Regions from separate parts of the Homo sapiens genome. Here regions 1, 2, 3 and 5 are each linked to region 4. The links are contacts of gene promoters, found by promoter capture Hi-C in blood cells and fetal thymus (Javierre and others, 2016). All regions are on one chromosome and are shown on one strand. Each heading gives the region's core, a stretch centred on a gene start or on the middle of the fragment in contact. The rest is flanking DNA. Distances are from core to core; before and after follow the strand shown.

What was found. Contacts are between HindIII fragments. The CHiCAGO score rates a contact against its expected background, and 5 or more counts as called.
Region 1: the fragment with the promoter of DKC1 here is called in contact with the fragment with the promoter of RPL10 in region 4 in 5 of 17 cell types (fetal thymus, activated CD4 T cells, naive CD8 T cells and 2 more); the score reaches 11.0 in fetal thymus.
Region 2: a contact is called between the fragment with the promoter of AVPR2 here and the fragment with the promoter of RPL10 in region 4, in 2 of 17 cell types (naive B cells and total B cells). The highest score is 7.5, in naive B cells.
Region 3: a contact is called between the fragment with the promoter of NAA10 here and the fragment with the promoter of RPL10 in region 4, in 11 of 17 cell types (naive CD8 T cells, non-activated CD4 T cells, neutrophils and 8 more). The highest score is 12.9, in naive CD8 T cells.
Region 5: a fragment that was not itself captured here is called in contact with the fragment with the promoter of RPL10 in region 4 in 10 of 17 cell types (naive B cells, activated CD4 T cells, naive CD8 T cells and 7 more); the score reaches 10.7 in naive B cells.

The regions. Positions count from the first base shown.
Region 1 is chrX:154,761,541-154,764,240 of GRCh38, forward strand. DKC1 (dyskerin pseudouridine synthase 1) reads left to right here and starts at 1,324. Exons shown (of 15, transcript NM_001363.5): 1 at 1,324-1,441. The coding sequence starts at 1,426. RefSeq lists enhancers at 945-1,004, 1,755-1,854 and a silencer at 1,105-1,404. The HindIII fragment of the contact is 5,247 bases long and covers 1-2,700 here.
Region 2 is chrX:153,903,223-153,905,922 of GRCh38, forward strand. AVPR2 (arginine vasopressin receptor 2) reads left to right here and starts at 1,451. Exons shown (of 4, transcript NM_000054.7): 1 at 1,451-1,549; 2 at 1,752-1,948; 3 at 2,310-2,700. The coding sequence starts at 1,924. The HindIII fragment of the contact is 5,945 bases long and covers 1-2,700 here.
Region 3 is chrX:153,933,787-153,936,486 of GRCh38, forward strand. NAA10 (N-alpha-acetyltransferase 10, NatA catalytic subunit) reads right to left here and starts at 1,251. Exons shown (of 8, transcript NM_003491.4): 1 at 1,098-1,251; 2 at 591-689; 3 at 157-215. The coding sequence starts at 1,118. RENBP (renin binding protein) reads right to left here. Exons shown (of 11, transcript NM_002910.6): 10 at 1,703-1,790; 11 at 1,483-1,618. The coding sequence ends at 1,500. RefSeq lists a silencer at 941-1,520 and enhancers at 1,511-2,016, 2,017-2,521. The HindIII fragment of the contact is 15,713 bases long and covers 1-2,700 here.
Region 4 is chrX:154,397,093-154,399,792 of GRCh38, forward strand. RPL10 (ribosomal protein L10) reads left to right here and starts at 1,285. Exons shown (of 7, transcript NM_006013.5): 1 at 1,285-1,302; 2 at 1,405-1,450; 3 at 2,246-2,304; 4 at 2,395-2,502. The coding sequence starts at 1,428. LOC124905228 (a long non-coding RNA gene) reads right to left here and starts at 1,750. Exons shown (of 2, transcript XR_007068356.1): 1 at 493-1,750. RefSeq lists silencers at 328-507, 578-647 and enhancers at 650-1,195, 1,208-1,417, 1,740-2,285, 2,286-2,700. The HindIII fragment of the contact is 9,726 bases long and covers 225-2,700 here.
Region 5 is chrX:154,138,508-154,141,207 of GRCh38, forward strand. No RefSeq gene overlaps it. Among named protein-coding and RNA genes, the nearest start is that of OPN1LW, 4.4 kb to the right of the region's middle. RefSeq lists cis regulatory regions at 197-2,649, 2,055-2,645. The HindIII fragment of the contact is 6,975 bases long and covers 1-2,700 here.

The DNA of each region.
Region 1 (2,700 bases), core at 74-2,573, 360 kb after region 4:
TCTTTCCTTCCATTATCACCCTCAGTCCTTGAGTCAGGAAGCCCCTCTGGGAATTTATCCAGCTACCAATTGTGTTTATTACAAGTATGGATTCAAGAACCGGGGAAAGAGCCACAGGGTGGCTGATAGTGAAAGGGACGTGGGCTGACTCCACTTCTGACCATTGGACCAAGTGGCATTCTACTTCCCCAGTGATTCACACGGGCTAGTGCAAGCCCCTGGTAAATGGCCACGGGTCCCACGAGAAGGGAGGAGGCAGGCTGAAAGTACACACTTGTAGCGTTACATGTGCCTGGCCTCACCTTTACAGGCTCACCTCACGGGCTCTGGCCTGTGGACTGACTAGATCTGGGAATTAGATGAGGCACCATGATTTTCCATTGTGGTGATTCAAGGCAGAATGCCTTTAGCCAGACCTAGAGTTACCGGGGTTATACAGATCATGATGGCTTACTACAGGACACTGTGATCAATTAGACACCACCAAAGATCCCTGGGGAGAAATCAGTTTGGTTCCAGCTTCCAGCCCTGCTGCCTATCATGATACCCAGGCTCATCCTGTTTCTATGAGATTTAGTGCCAGTGCTTTGTCTCTGCTGTTTGGCGTGAAGCCCGGTCGTAGAGTTCAAATTGAGGTGTGCTGTGAGCATAAACGCACACACCGGAAAGTCTTTGCGGGGACAAAAAAAAAAAACCAATGTAAAATACCCCATTCATACTGTTGTGTTTTGCCTATATGTGGAAATGATAATATTTCGGATACGCTGGGTTAAAAAAATTCATTATAAATCATTTTCACCTTTTTCTTTTTACTCTTCTTTCATGTTGCTGCTGGAAAATTTAAAAGTCAACATGTGGCACGCACACTACTCCTATTGGCCATCTGCTCTAGCTGGATGGGAACTGCAAGCAGCAAAGGCCTTTCAACCTCTCCGAGCTTCAACATGTTCACTTATGCATCAGGACTGATCCAACAGCAACCTGAAAGGGTCGGTGTGAGAAAGCAAAGAAAGAGGTACTGTTTACGGAGCGTTCAGCCGTGAGCCCAGGCGCAGGCGCGGAGCTAAACCCGGAGGTGAAGCAACTACAGCTGGGGCCACGCCCACAGACTCCGGGCTGTCGGGGCGGGCGGCACTCGCGCTTCCAGCCTGGGCCAACCAGGCTGCTTGAGGCTCGAAGCGCATGCGCGGTCTCGCCCTCCGTACTGGCCGAGCCAGCAAATCGCATTGCGCAGACGACCAGCGGGCGCCTCGGATTCCGCCCCCGGGATGGCCCCGCCTCCTCCCGCCCCGCGGCAAGGCACGCACAGGGCAGTGCGCGGGTGGGTGGGTCCTAGCAGCGCGGCCTGACGGGACCAAGGCGGCGGGAGTCTGCGGTCGTTCCCTCGGCTGTGGACCGGGCGGCACGCACGCGGTGCAGGGTAACATGGCGGATGCGGAAGGTAAGGGCTGCAGGCTTCCGGGCCGTGCTAACTCCGGGCGACTCGGGGAACGGGGGTGGGGGGATGGTATCGGGGCCCGCGCACGCCTCCCTCTGGTTCCCGCCGGCGTGTCGGCCTCTTCACCGCCCGGCCTTAAGCCGGCCTTGTCTCTCGGCCCTGGCTCCGTGGCAAGGGCGCGAGAGTGGGAGCCCCTCGCGGTGACTTGGCATGATGGGGCTCGGCCCTCTCACCTCCCTGGGGTCCGGGTCGCCGTCGAAAGACATCTGCCGTGCTGCCCACCCCGCGGTGGCGTGGGACGTGGCAGTGTCTGTGCTGCTGCCAGCCCGGACGCCGCCGTTACAGCTCCATGCGACTAGGGGAGCAAGGGTAGTGGAAACGGGCCGAGAAGAAAAGGAGCGGAGGGACCCCGGAGCAGGGATAGAGCTCCGAGTTGCAAGAAAGTTCTAGAGGCCACAAGCCCGCGGGGACAGTCGAGTGGTCGCTTATGGAACTTTCCGGCCCCCTGCGTGAGCGCTTCTGTGGGATGTTTAAGCTCTGCCATAGCCACGTGGTGAACCGGAAGGGAAGCCGACACGTGCAGTAGCCTACAGTCAGTTACCCAGCCATGGGACCCATACATTTGGCCTTACACACCTTGTTTTCTCGCTTACCTACGGATATACGTTCTAAGAAATGGGTCGTTAGGCGATTTCATCATTGTGTGAACATCAGAGGGCTCTTACACAAACCTAGGTGGCATAGGCTACTACACACCTAGGCTGTATATGGTGTAGCGTATGGCTCCTAGGCTTCAAACCTGGACAGCATGGTATTGTGCGGAATGCTGTAGGCAGTTGGGACACAGCGTCGAGAGTTTGTGTACTTAAACATGTCTAAGCAGAAAAAGGACAGTAAAAATATAGCACAGGGCCGGGCGCGGTGGCTCAGGCCTGTGATCCCAGCCCAGGCTGGCGGATCACCTGCGGTCAGGAGTTCAAGACCAGCCTGGCCAACATGGTGAAACCCCGTCTCTACTAAAAATACAAAAAATTTAGGTGGGCGTGGTGGTATACGCCTGTAATCCCAGCTACTCGGGAGGCTGAGGCAGGAGAATTGCTTGAACCTGGAGAAGGAGGTTGCAGTGAGCCGAGTTTCTGCCACTGCACTCCAGCCTGGGGAAAGAGTGTGACCGTCTCAAAAAAAAAAAATTATATATATATATAAATATGTGTGTGTATATATGTATATTATATATGTATGTATTATATGTATGTATATTA
Region 2 (2,700 bases), core at 201-2,700, 490 kb before region 4:
GACAGCATGCGGTTATTGGGGACAGCATGAGGATGTGCATGCGCTGAGGAGATGCAGCTGAAGCGTCAGGCCTGGGGTGCCAGCACTCTGCAGCCTGCCCCCAAGGGGCTCTGCAAAAACATGGCAAAGATGCGGGGTGTGATGTGCACCTGTGTGTGCTGCGGGTGTGTGCGTGTGTGGTGTTGGCTGTGCGTATGTGGTGTGTATGGCTGTGTGGTGGGTACATGTGTGGGTGTGTGGCGTATGGGAGTGTGTGATGTGTGCATGTGTGTGGTGTGTAATATATGTGTGCATGGTGTGGTGTGTGTGTGGTGTGGCGTATGGGTGTGTGGTGGGTGCATGTGTGTGTGGCGTGTGGCTGTGTGCATGTATGTATGTGGTGTGGTGTGTGCGCTGTCTCTGGAAAATGCCCACCCTGTGTTCCCACCACCCTAACAGGGCCGGGAGGGGCCAGGGTGCTGCCAGGCTCTCTGGGCAGGAAGAGGAGGCCTTGGCCGCGGGCCGGACTTGGGCCTGGTCCGTGAGGCTGTTTTGGTCTCTGGCTTCACAGGCAACAGAGAAGACAGACAAACAGGAAGAAAGCAGCTGCCTTGGGCTGGGCTGGGCTGGGCTGGCCTCGGCTGAGCCAAGCCAGGCCTGGGTGCGGGGGGAGTGGAAAGAGAACTACTGGGATGGGGGCTGGAGGGGGTGTGGGGACAGGGGAAGGAGAGAGGTGTTGGGGGAGGGAGGAGGAGGGCTCAGGTACAGGGAAGGTGCGTCCATACTCATGGTATGTTCAAGAACATGAGCGAGCGTCTCTGTGTTGTGTGTTTGTGGCTGTGTGGCTGTATCATGTGAGGTTGTGTGTGGTGGGAGGGAGCCCGTGAGCACACGGAGGTCCCCAGCCCCTCTTCCTAGGACAGGTAGTTGCAGGTGGGGCAGGAGGAAGAGGGTGGGGGTGTCCCTGGATCTCACAGGGGTTCGTGAAGCCTGGCTTGGCCCCTGCCCCACTCCTCCCTTTCCTGTCCCTCGTCTCCGGCCAACTGGGCCCTAACTGGGGAGGAGGAGGGGCCTGCGTGGGCCTGGGAGGGGCCCAGCGAAAGTGTTTTCACCCCTTCCTTGCCTGGGCCCAGCGAGGAGCAGGAGGACCCCAACTTGGGAAGGGGGCGTGAAGCTCCCATGAAAAAGCAGCGCAGTCCTGGGCCAGACCCACCGCTCTCTGGCCTCAGTTTCCCCACTTATAAAATGGGAATGCTGAACTAAGTGACCTCCCAGAGCACTGCCAACCCAGACAATCCAACCAGGGGGGCGTGGTAGGGTGAGGGTGGGCGTGGAGGCTATGGCAGTGGGAGGAGGGAGTCCTGGGCCGGGACCAGGGAGGCCCTGGGGAAAGGAAGGGAAACAGGAGGCCAGGGGAGGCCTGGGGGAAAGGGGGAGGGGGAGGAAGTCCCCTCCTGGCCAGGTCACTCCCAGAGGCTGGGCTGGGCCAGGGCAGGGCAGCCGATGGAGAGCAGATCTGAGCACCCAGCCACCTTCACGCCACCGCCCAGCTGCCCAGGAGCCCAGCCAGGTAAGGGGCTGCGCCTGCCTGCCCCCCTGCCCAGTCCCCAGCCCTCGGATGGTGGCCTCTCTCGGCCTCGGTTGGGGCAGGGGAGTTCTGCGTGTCTGTCTGGGGTGCCCACTCCCAAACCCGGGACTCATGGGCTGCCTGGGGGATCCTGGGTTCTGTGCATCCGTCTGTCTGACCATCCCTCTCAATCTTCCCTGCCCAGGACTGGCCATACTGCCACCGACACGTGCACACACGCCAACAGGCATCTGCCATGCTGGCATCTCTATAAGGGCTCCAGTCCAGAGACCCTGGGCCATTGAACTTGCTCCTCAGGCAGAGGCTGAGTCCGCACATCACCTCCAGGCCCTCAGAACACCTGCCCCAGCCCCACCATGCTCATGGCGTCCACCACTTCCGGTAAGGCTTGCCCCTCCATGAGTCCGGTGGGCAGAGTGGGTTTGACGATTCAGGGAAGCCCCTCTTTCTAAAGACCTCCTTCACCCTCACCTCTGGGTGTGTCTCTCCAGGCTGCCAATGAGTGGGGAGGGGAGCACAGCCCCACTTCCCCGCCAGGGCTGGGGCTGGGGCTGGGGCTGGGGCTGCCCTTCCTTCTGGACTGCATGAGCCTGGGGTGTGTATCCCTCATAACATGGCTTTCCTGGAGTCCCCTCTGCTAGGAGCCAGGAAGTGGGTGTCCGGATGGGGGCACGGGAGGCAGGCCTGAGTCCCCCTGCACAGCACCCTCTCTAACCAGGCCCTCTTCCCGACTCCTTCCCAGCTGTGCCTGGGCATCCCTCTCTGCCCAGCCTGCCCAGCAACAGCAGCCAGGAGAGGCCACTGGACACCCGGGACCCGCTGCTAGCCCGGGCGGAGCTGGCGCTGCTCTCCATAGTCTTTGTGGCTGTGGCCCTGAGCAATGGCCTGGTGCTGGCGGCCCTAGCTCGGCGGGGCCGGCGGGGCCACTGGGCACCCATACACGTCTTCATTGGCCACTTGTGCCTGGCCGACCTGGCCGTGGCTCTGTTCCAAGTGCTGCCCCAGCTGGCCTGGAAGGCCACCGACCGCTTCCGTGGGCCAGATGCCCTGTGTCGGGCCGTGAAGTATCTGCAGATGGTGGGCATGTATGCCTCCTCCTACATGATCCTGGCCATGACGCTGGACCGCCACCG
Region 3 (2,700 bases), core at 1-2,500, 460 kb before region 4:
GCTGAGGGGTGCTATAAGAACTCCATGTCCTTTCTGTTCAATTTTTCTATAAACTTTCAACTGTACTGAAAAGAAGAAGCCTATTCATTTTTTTTAAAGCCCACAGAGGCATCCACCAGACACGTGTAGCTTCTGTCTTCCTCCTTGGTGACTCACATTTTGGCCAGGACATACCCCACAATCTTCCCATTCTCGTCCTCAGCAATGTAAGAGAGCTGGTGACAGGAAAACAGAGTGAGAAAACTTCTTGTCGGAGCTAGAAGAGCCCTTTAGAGGGACACAAACTGGACGAGTGGCGAGTTGTGTGATGGCTCATGACCTCCGGGCTGAGTGGCTTGGTCTCCCCCTCGCCACACTGTGCCCTGCCCATACCCAGAAAGAAGACGCAAAGTGGGGATCCTGCCCCTATTCTCTGCTCCCTTCGGGCGCCTTCTTTTCCTTTGCCCCTGTCTGCCAGCTGAAAACACCCAGGACGCCACCGACCATACAGCCCCCTGGGCTCTGACAGACTTGTCCACTCCCTCCAAGATGGCCAGATGGGATTTTCCTCGGCCTGCTTTCCCCCATGCCCAAATTCAGAAGCTGCCCACCTGGGGCCAGGAAAGGCCATGGTAGAAGTAGTATTTCATCTGGTAGTTCTCGGGCAGGCAGAGGAGGTTGCAGTGCTGCATGTTCATTAGGTCCTCTGGCTGCAGGGAAGGAGGGCAGTGGAACGCGCTCAGTCTAAGGCGGCGGTGACCACGGGTGAGAAGCCTGCTCCCCGTCGGTCTGCTCGGCCCCGCTCCCTCGGGGCTGGGCAGGCACTGTGACGATCTGACTTTGCACAACGCCCGGAGCACAGGAACAGGAGTGGGCGCCCCGGAGGTCCCCGGAGCCCACCCAACGGAGGCCCGACATCACGCAAACAGGAGGGAATCGCAGCCCCGGCCCCGCGCCCCGGCCTCTTCGGCGGGCTGGGCCAGCCCCATAGGTCCAGCGGCCGCAGGCACACTCAGGGCCACCGGGCCGGGCTCGGCCGGGGCCCTCGGGAGCATGCGCGGCAGCCACCCGGCCCGGCGCCCACGCGGCGCGGACAGCCTCCCGCCCCGGGCGCTCACCCTCGCATTGCGGATGTTCATAACGGCGGCGGGGCTCGCGGGTCCCAGCGGATCGTGAAGGCGCAGTCAGCTGCCGCCGCGCTCCGAAGCGACGCCGGGACGGCCGGGGCTGGGACCGGAGCTGGGCTCGCTGGGCGACGGCGGAAGGGGCGGTGCGCGCCGGGCCGGCCACCGGCCGGAAGTGCACGGCCGCCGGGCCCGTCCTCCCGGCCGCTTGGCCAATGCGCGGGACAGGCCAGCGCACGGGGCGGGCCAATGCGCGGAGCCGGTCAGCGCGGGGCGGGCCTGGGGGCGGGGCGGGCGCTGCCCCGGAGCTGGAGCCGGCCCCTCCCTCGGCGCGACAGCCCCCCTCCCGCGAGCCCACAGACGCGCGCACAGCCGCAGGTGGAGCGGACTCAGCCTTTATTCCGCGCCTCGGCAGGCGGGGGTGGGGGCGGGGGAGGGGGCGGGGGCGGGGCGGCTCAGCAGGGCGCCCAGCATCTCCTCGCACATGGCTAGGCACCGCGGCACGTGGAAGCAGCCTGCGGGTAGAGGCGGGCAGGTAGTGAGGGCCGGGGGCAGCCGAGAGGCGCAACCCCTGCGGCCCCGCCCTCTCCCCCACTCACCTTTGAAAGGACCTCCCTTGATGGAGAGGGCCACCTTGCCCTCTCGGCTCAGGTAGCCAAACCATTCCCCGTACTCGGGATCGCGAAACTGGAATAACAGAGACAGTGACAGCTAGCGCCTGCAGGACCCGCCCAGATGCCACTGCATCGCTACCAGGGGTCAGAGCCTGGGTTGACCCCAGGTGACGTGGCTCCAGAACCAGCGATCTTAACCGCGACACTGCGTCCTCCACAAAGATGAAAGCAGGGGTGGGCGCAGCAGGCAGGCTACAACTATATAACCGACTGGGCAAGGGGATGAGACACTGCTAGATGGAATGAAAGAACTCTGCCCTGGGGTGTAGAAACGTTGTCTATCGGGCCGGGAGCTGTGGCTTGCGCCTGTAATCCCAGCACTTTCGGAGGCCGAGGCGGGCGGATCACCTGAGGTCAGGAGTTCAAGATCAGCCTGGACAACATGGTGAAACCTCATCTCTACTAAAAATACAAAATTAGCCGGACGTGGTGGCACGCACTTGTAATCCCAGCAGTATACTCGGGAGGCTGAGGCGGGAGAATAGCTTGAACACAGGAGGCGGAGGTTGCAGTGAGCTGAGATCACGCCATTGCGCTCCAGCCTGGGTGACAGAGCGAGACTCCATCTCAAACAAACAAACAAACGAACAAACAAACAAACAAAAAAGTTCTCTATTGTGATTGTAGTCGTGGTTACGTTGATTCAAAGAAACAAAGAACCCGGCCGGGTGCAAAGGCTCACACCTGTAATCCCAGCACTTTGGGAGGCCGAGGCGGGCGGATCACAAGGTCAGGAGATCGAGACCATCCTGGCTAACACAGTGAAATCCCGTCTCTACTAAAATACAAAAAATTAGCCGGGAGTGGTGGCGGGCACCTGTAGTCCCAGCTACTCGGGAGGCTGAGGCAGGAGAATGGCGTGAACCCGGGAGGCGGAGCTTGCAGTGAGCCAAGATCGCGCCACTGCACTCCAGCCTGGGCAA
Region 4 (2,700 bases), core at 35-2,534:
ATCCGCCCACCTCCGCCCCTCAAAGTGCTGAGATCACAGGCGTGAGCCACGGCACTCCGCCGCAATTCCTGACTTGTACTGCCCCAGTGGTGTTACAGCCTCGAACCCAGTTTCCAGACCTAAGTCACCGCCGGCATCCAGAGTCCCATGATGGAAAGGGAGGCTAGGTTCCCCTGGGAAGGACCTTGCACCACTGCTGCAAGTGCACCCCAGAAATCGTCCCAAGCTTTTCTCAAAGGGACCTGCAGCCATTTATAAAAGCGACATATCATCCTGGAAAACAGGTGCGCTCGAGCAGGATTTCCTCCCGTCCTTCCTGTCAAAGGACGGGAAGACTTTGTTACCCCACCGCGCCCCACCTGCAGAATGGTGGACAGATACCTCCAGATGCCACTTCCCCCAGGACGCCCGCCTGCTCTGCGCACCTCTCCCCGGATGCTGCCCCGTGGGCGGGTGGGGGCGGCCCTGCTTCCCCACGACCCCCAGACGCACCCGGAGGGACTCTTGAGCACAGTGGAGTGGGAAGGGCGAGGTGGGGCGGTGCCCAGGCGAGAGCGGCTCATGGGAGGCGGCGCCCGAGACGCAGCTGGTCGGGACGGTGCGGGTCAGGGTGGGCGGAGCGGGGCTAGAGATGCCCCGGGGTTTCCCAGGCCATGAGTCTCCGTGGAGATTTCTCCTCGACCTCTTCCCCGCGGCAATGTGCGAACCCTGGGTCTCCAGGAAACGGGGATACGGGGCATGGCTCCCAGCAAGGCCTGGTCCAGCCTCTCCGGTAGGGGAATGGGTCTCCCCCTCCGGCCTCCCGGGTTGACAAAGGAACGCGGGCCCAGATCCCCGTATGGCGCTTCACCGCCGGGGCCTCTAGCCTAGAAGGAGGCACGGAGCGCGTGTCCGAGACCCGTGCAAGCTCAGGGACACTCTCGCGGTCGCCGGGAGGCCCACCTAGGGTACTTTCCTTTTTTCCACTCTCAGAAATATACGTCTGTCACAGTTAACGGCAAAGCCTAGGGCAAGAGTTCTACGCCCAAGATGGCCAGCCGGAAGCGGGCTTCTCGCGACCATGTGGCGAAGCCCCATTCGTCAGCTGGCCGCCCGCGGCCCTGGTACCCGGTCACCTCTCTGATCTGCGCATGTGCTGGGCTACGCCCGGGCGCAAGCGCCAAGAGCGGCTGCGTCTATGGTCATGACGTCTGACAGAGCGTCCACCCGTCTTCGACAGGACTCTATGGTTCTTACGCGCGCAGACAGACCGCCTATATAAGCCATGCGCAGGCGGAGGAGCGCCTCTTTCCCTTCGGTGTGGTGAGTAAGCGCAGTTGTCGTCTCTTGCGGTGCCGTTGCTGGTTCTCACACCTTTTAGGTCTGTTCTCGTCTTCCGTTCCGACTCTCTCTTTTTCGTTGCAGCCACTGAAGATCCTGGTGTCGCCATGGGCCGCCGCCCCGCCCGTTGGTGAGTCTTGAATCCGTGTACTTTCACTGCTGGGAAACGGGCGGGGAAAGAAGTGCCTATGGCCGCTGAAAACAATTGTGGGGTGGAGCCTCCCCCGTGCGGCGGCCCTGTCTTGGGAACTGACCCTATGTTTTACACCTCCCGGCTATTTTTTAGTCTGCAATATTACTGTCTGTTCCTTCGTTCCCGTGTCGGTGTGGAAGCGACGGTTCCCTCGTATCTCTGCCTGTGTCCTGCAAGCTCACCGCATTTTCGGGCGCTAGATACGCTCTTGGGGCCTTTGTGTGCGTTCTCTGTCTTATTTCCGGGCGACGTGCCGCGTGCGTTGTCGGACGTGAAGGGCAGTCCGGGAAAAACGGGTGCGGCCGCCTCCTGTGTCCTACAGGGGGCGCCAGACGCATTTCCACTCGGCTTGGAGGTGGATTTAGTGCCACGTGCCCGAAAGTCTTAAATTGGGTGACCTGAGCTGTGCAATGATAATGCGGCGATTTTGTAGTACGCAGTGTCTTGAAGAGAGAATTTTTAACTAGGAAAGTTTGTTGCAAAGTGTTTATAGGAAGCGTAAGACAAAGTAACGGAAGATGGTGTCTGTTGTTTCTAGTCTTGGGTGTTGTCTGTGTTGCAGCAGCCAACTGTTGCTTTGTAGTTTATTTCCCCGAATGGAAACGGTTTAGAAGTGGACGTGCATTCCCCACCCTTTTCCCGTCCCTCGTTTGGGTTGTTCCTTGAGGGGCAAAGTGCCTGTTGGGCTTTCTGTGAACCTCACCTAACCTGTGTTTTTTCACTCCCCTGCAGTTACCGGTATTGTAAGAACAAGCCGTACCCAAAGTCTCGCTTCTGCCGAGGTGTCCCTGGTAAGTAGTGGAAGAGCCCCTGCACTGGTTGGCTCTGCGGACTCCGCGTCCGTCTGTGACACCCCCTGCACACTTACCCAATCCTTTTAGATGCCAAGATTCGCATTTTTGACCTGGGGCGGAAAAAGGCAAAAGTGGATGAGTTTCCGCTTTGTGGCCACATGGTGTCAGATGAATATGAGCAGCTGTCCTCTGAAGGTAAGGCAGGATTCTTTGTTCGTCACCCCCCAGTCCTTCCTCCGTGCTCCCTCAACCCCACCCACATACACTGCACTGGAATTGGGAGTTGATGAAACATGAGCCTTACAAAACTCAGCCAACACAGTTCCCCTGAGCTGGAGATAGTCGTGGTGAATGTTTCTCTATTATCTTCTCTCACTTTGCTGCTTTTCTTCT
Region 5 (2,700 bases), core at 22-2,521, 260 kb before region 4:
AAGAAAGACATGACAGGCTCAGAATCAATGTCAACCTGGGCAAAGGTCAGAAACGGAACAGGGACCCTTTCTTTGTGGGCAGGTTTGACATGAAAGGTTCAGCGACTTCAACTCTTCTGATTCTTTCTTCTTGAGCCCATTTTGGTAAGTTGTGTTTTCCTAAAAGTTTGTCCATTCCATCCAAATGTTCACATTAGTCAGGATCTGTGAAGGATGTCAATGGCTGTGAGGCGAGGGCCCCTTGCCAGTCCCCATGTTCGTTATTTATGGATGCCTGATGCCCACAACCTCGACTTCTCAGCTGAGGGCAACTCCTCCTGTCCTCTCGCTGCTTCCACCTAAGCCACCAGGAAATCCTGTTGACTCCACTTACAAAAGCTCTCCAGAGTCTGCTACCTCTTACCACCCTACTGTCGCCTCCCAGACCTGGTCTCCCCGCTTCTGCCCTGGCCCCTACAGCTCGCAGACAGCTGCCAGAGGAGTCCATCCGAATCAACTTCAGATTGCGTCACTTTTTCTTTCAAAATCCGACAAAGCTCCTCATTCCATTCAGAGTGAGAAGGGCCCCGCCATGCAGCCTTTCCTCCTCCTATTCACCAACCCCACTCTCGCTCCAGCCATCTTGATATCCTTGCTGGTCCTGGAGCAGGCCAGCCACGCTCTTGCCCCAGGGCCTTTGCACTTGCTGCCCCTCTCCTGTGATGCCCTCCTGGATCTCTGCATGGCTCCCTCCTGCCCTCCCTCCCTCGAGTCTTTGCTCACATGTCCCCTTCTCAGAGGGGCTCACCCTGGTGCCCTTCGAAAGTGGGCATCCACTCCCTTCCCACCCTGGCACCCGCACCCTCCTGTCTTCCTTTTTCTGTTCTCCATCCTACTCATCTCCCCCAACTAGAAAGGCAGCTGCAGCTGCGGAGCACGGGATCTCCATCTGCAGCTGCATCCCGGGACCTAGAACAGGTACAAAAGTACCTAATAAGTACCCACTGAATGAATAATTGGCTGAGTTTTCTGTACCAAAGACTGAGCTAAGACTCTTTAAAAGGATGATCTTATTTAAGCCTTACAGCAAGTAAATGTTATCCCCATCTTCCTGATGAGGACACAGTGACCACCACGCTCAAGGACACAGAGGGTGGACGTGCCACATTCACACTCTGTGACTTAGAGCGGCTGGACGGGCAGGGACTTAGGAGGCCTACAGCAGCCAGGGTGAGATTATGAGGCTGAGCTGAGAATATCAAGACTGTACCGAGTAGGGGGCCTTGGCAAGTGTGGAGAGCCCGGCAGCTGGGGCAGAGGGCGGAGTACGGTGTGCGTTTACGGACCTCTTCAAACGAGGTAGGAAGGTCAGAAGTCAAAAAGGGAACAAATGATGTTTAACCACACAAAAATGAAAATCCAATGGTTGGATATCCATTCCAAATACACAAAGGCAACGGATAAGTGATCCGGGCCAGGCACAGAAGGCCATGCACCCGTAGGATTGCACTCAGAGCTCCCAAATGCATAGGAATAGAAGGGTGGGTGCAGGAGGCTGAGGGGTGGGGAAAGGGCATGGGTGTTTCATGAGGACAGAGCTTCCGTTTCATGCAATGAAAAGAGTTTGGAGACGGATGGTGGTGACTGGACTATACACTTACACACGGTAGCGATGGTACACTTTGTATTATGTATATTTTACCACGATCTTTTTAAAGTGTCAAAGGCAAATGGCCAAATGGTTCCTTGTCCTATAGCTGTAGCAGCCATCGGCTGTTAGTGACAAAGCCCCTGAGTCAAGATGACAGCAGCCCCCATAACTCCTAATCGGCTCTCCCGCGTGGAGTCATTTAGGAGTAGTCGCATTAGAGACAAGTCCAACATCTAATCTTCCACCCTGGCCAGGGCCCCAGCTGGCAGCGAGGGTGGGAGACTCCGGGCAGAGCAGAGGGCGCTGACATTGGGGCCCGGCCTGGCTTGGGTCCCTCTGGCCTTTCCCCAGGGGCCCTCTTTCCTTGGGGCTTTCTTGGGCCGCCACTGCTCCCGCTCCTCTCCCCCCATCCCACCCCCTCACCCCCTCGTTCTTCATATCCTTCTCTAGTGCTCCCTCCACTTTCATCCACCCTTCTGCAAGAGTGTGGGACCACAAATGAGTTTTCACCTGGCCTGGGGACACACGTGCCCCCACAGGTGCTGAGTGACTTTCTAGGACAGTAATCTGCTTTAGGCTAAAATGGGACTTGATCTTCTGTTAGCCCTAATCATCAATTAGCAGAGCCGGTGAAGGTGCAGAACCTACCGCCTTTCCAGGCCTCCTCCCACCTCTGCCACCTCCACTCTCCTTCCTGGGATGTGGGGGCTGGCACACGTGTGGCCCAGGGCATTGGTGGGATTGCACTGAGCTGGGTCATTAGCGTAATCCTGGACAAGGGCAGACAGGGCGAGCGGAGGGCCAGCTCCGGGGCTCAGGCAAGGCTGGGGGCTTCCCCCAGACACCCCACTCCTCCTCTGCTGGACCCCCACTTCATAGGGCACTTCGTGTTCTCAAAGGGCTTCCAAATAGCATGGTGGCCTTGGATGCCCAGGGAAGCCTCAGAGTTGCTTATCTCCCTCTAGACAGAAGGGGAATCTCGGTCAAGAGGGAGAGGTCGCCCTGTTCAAGGCCACCCAGCCAGCTCATGGCGGTAATGGGACAAGGCTGGCCAGCCATCCCACCCTCAG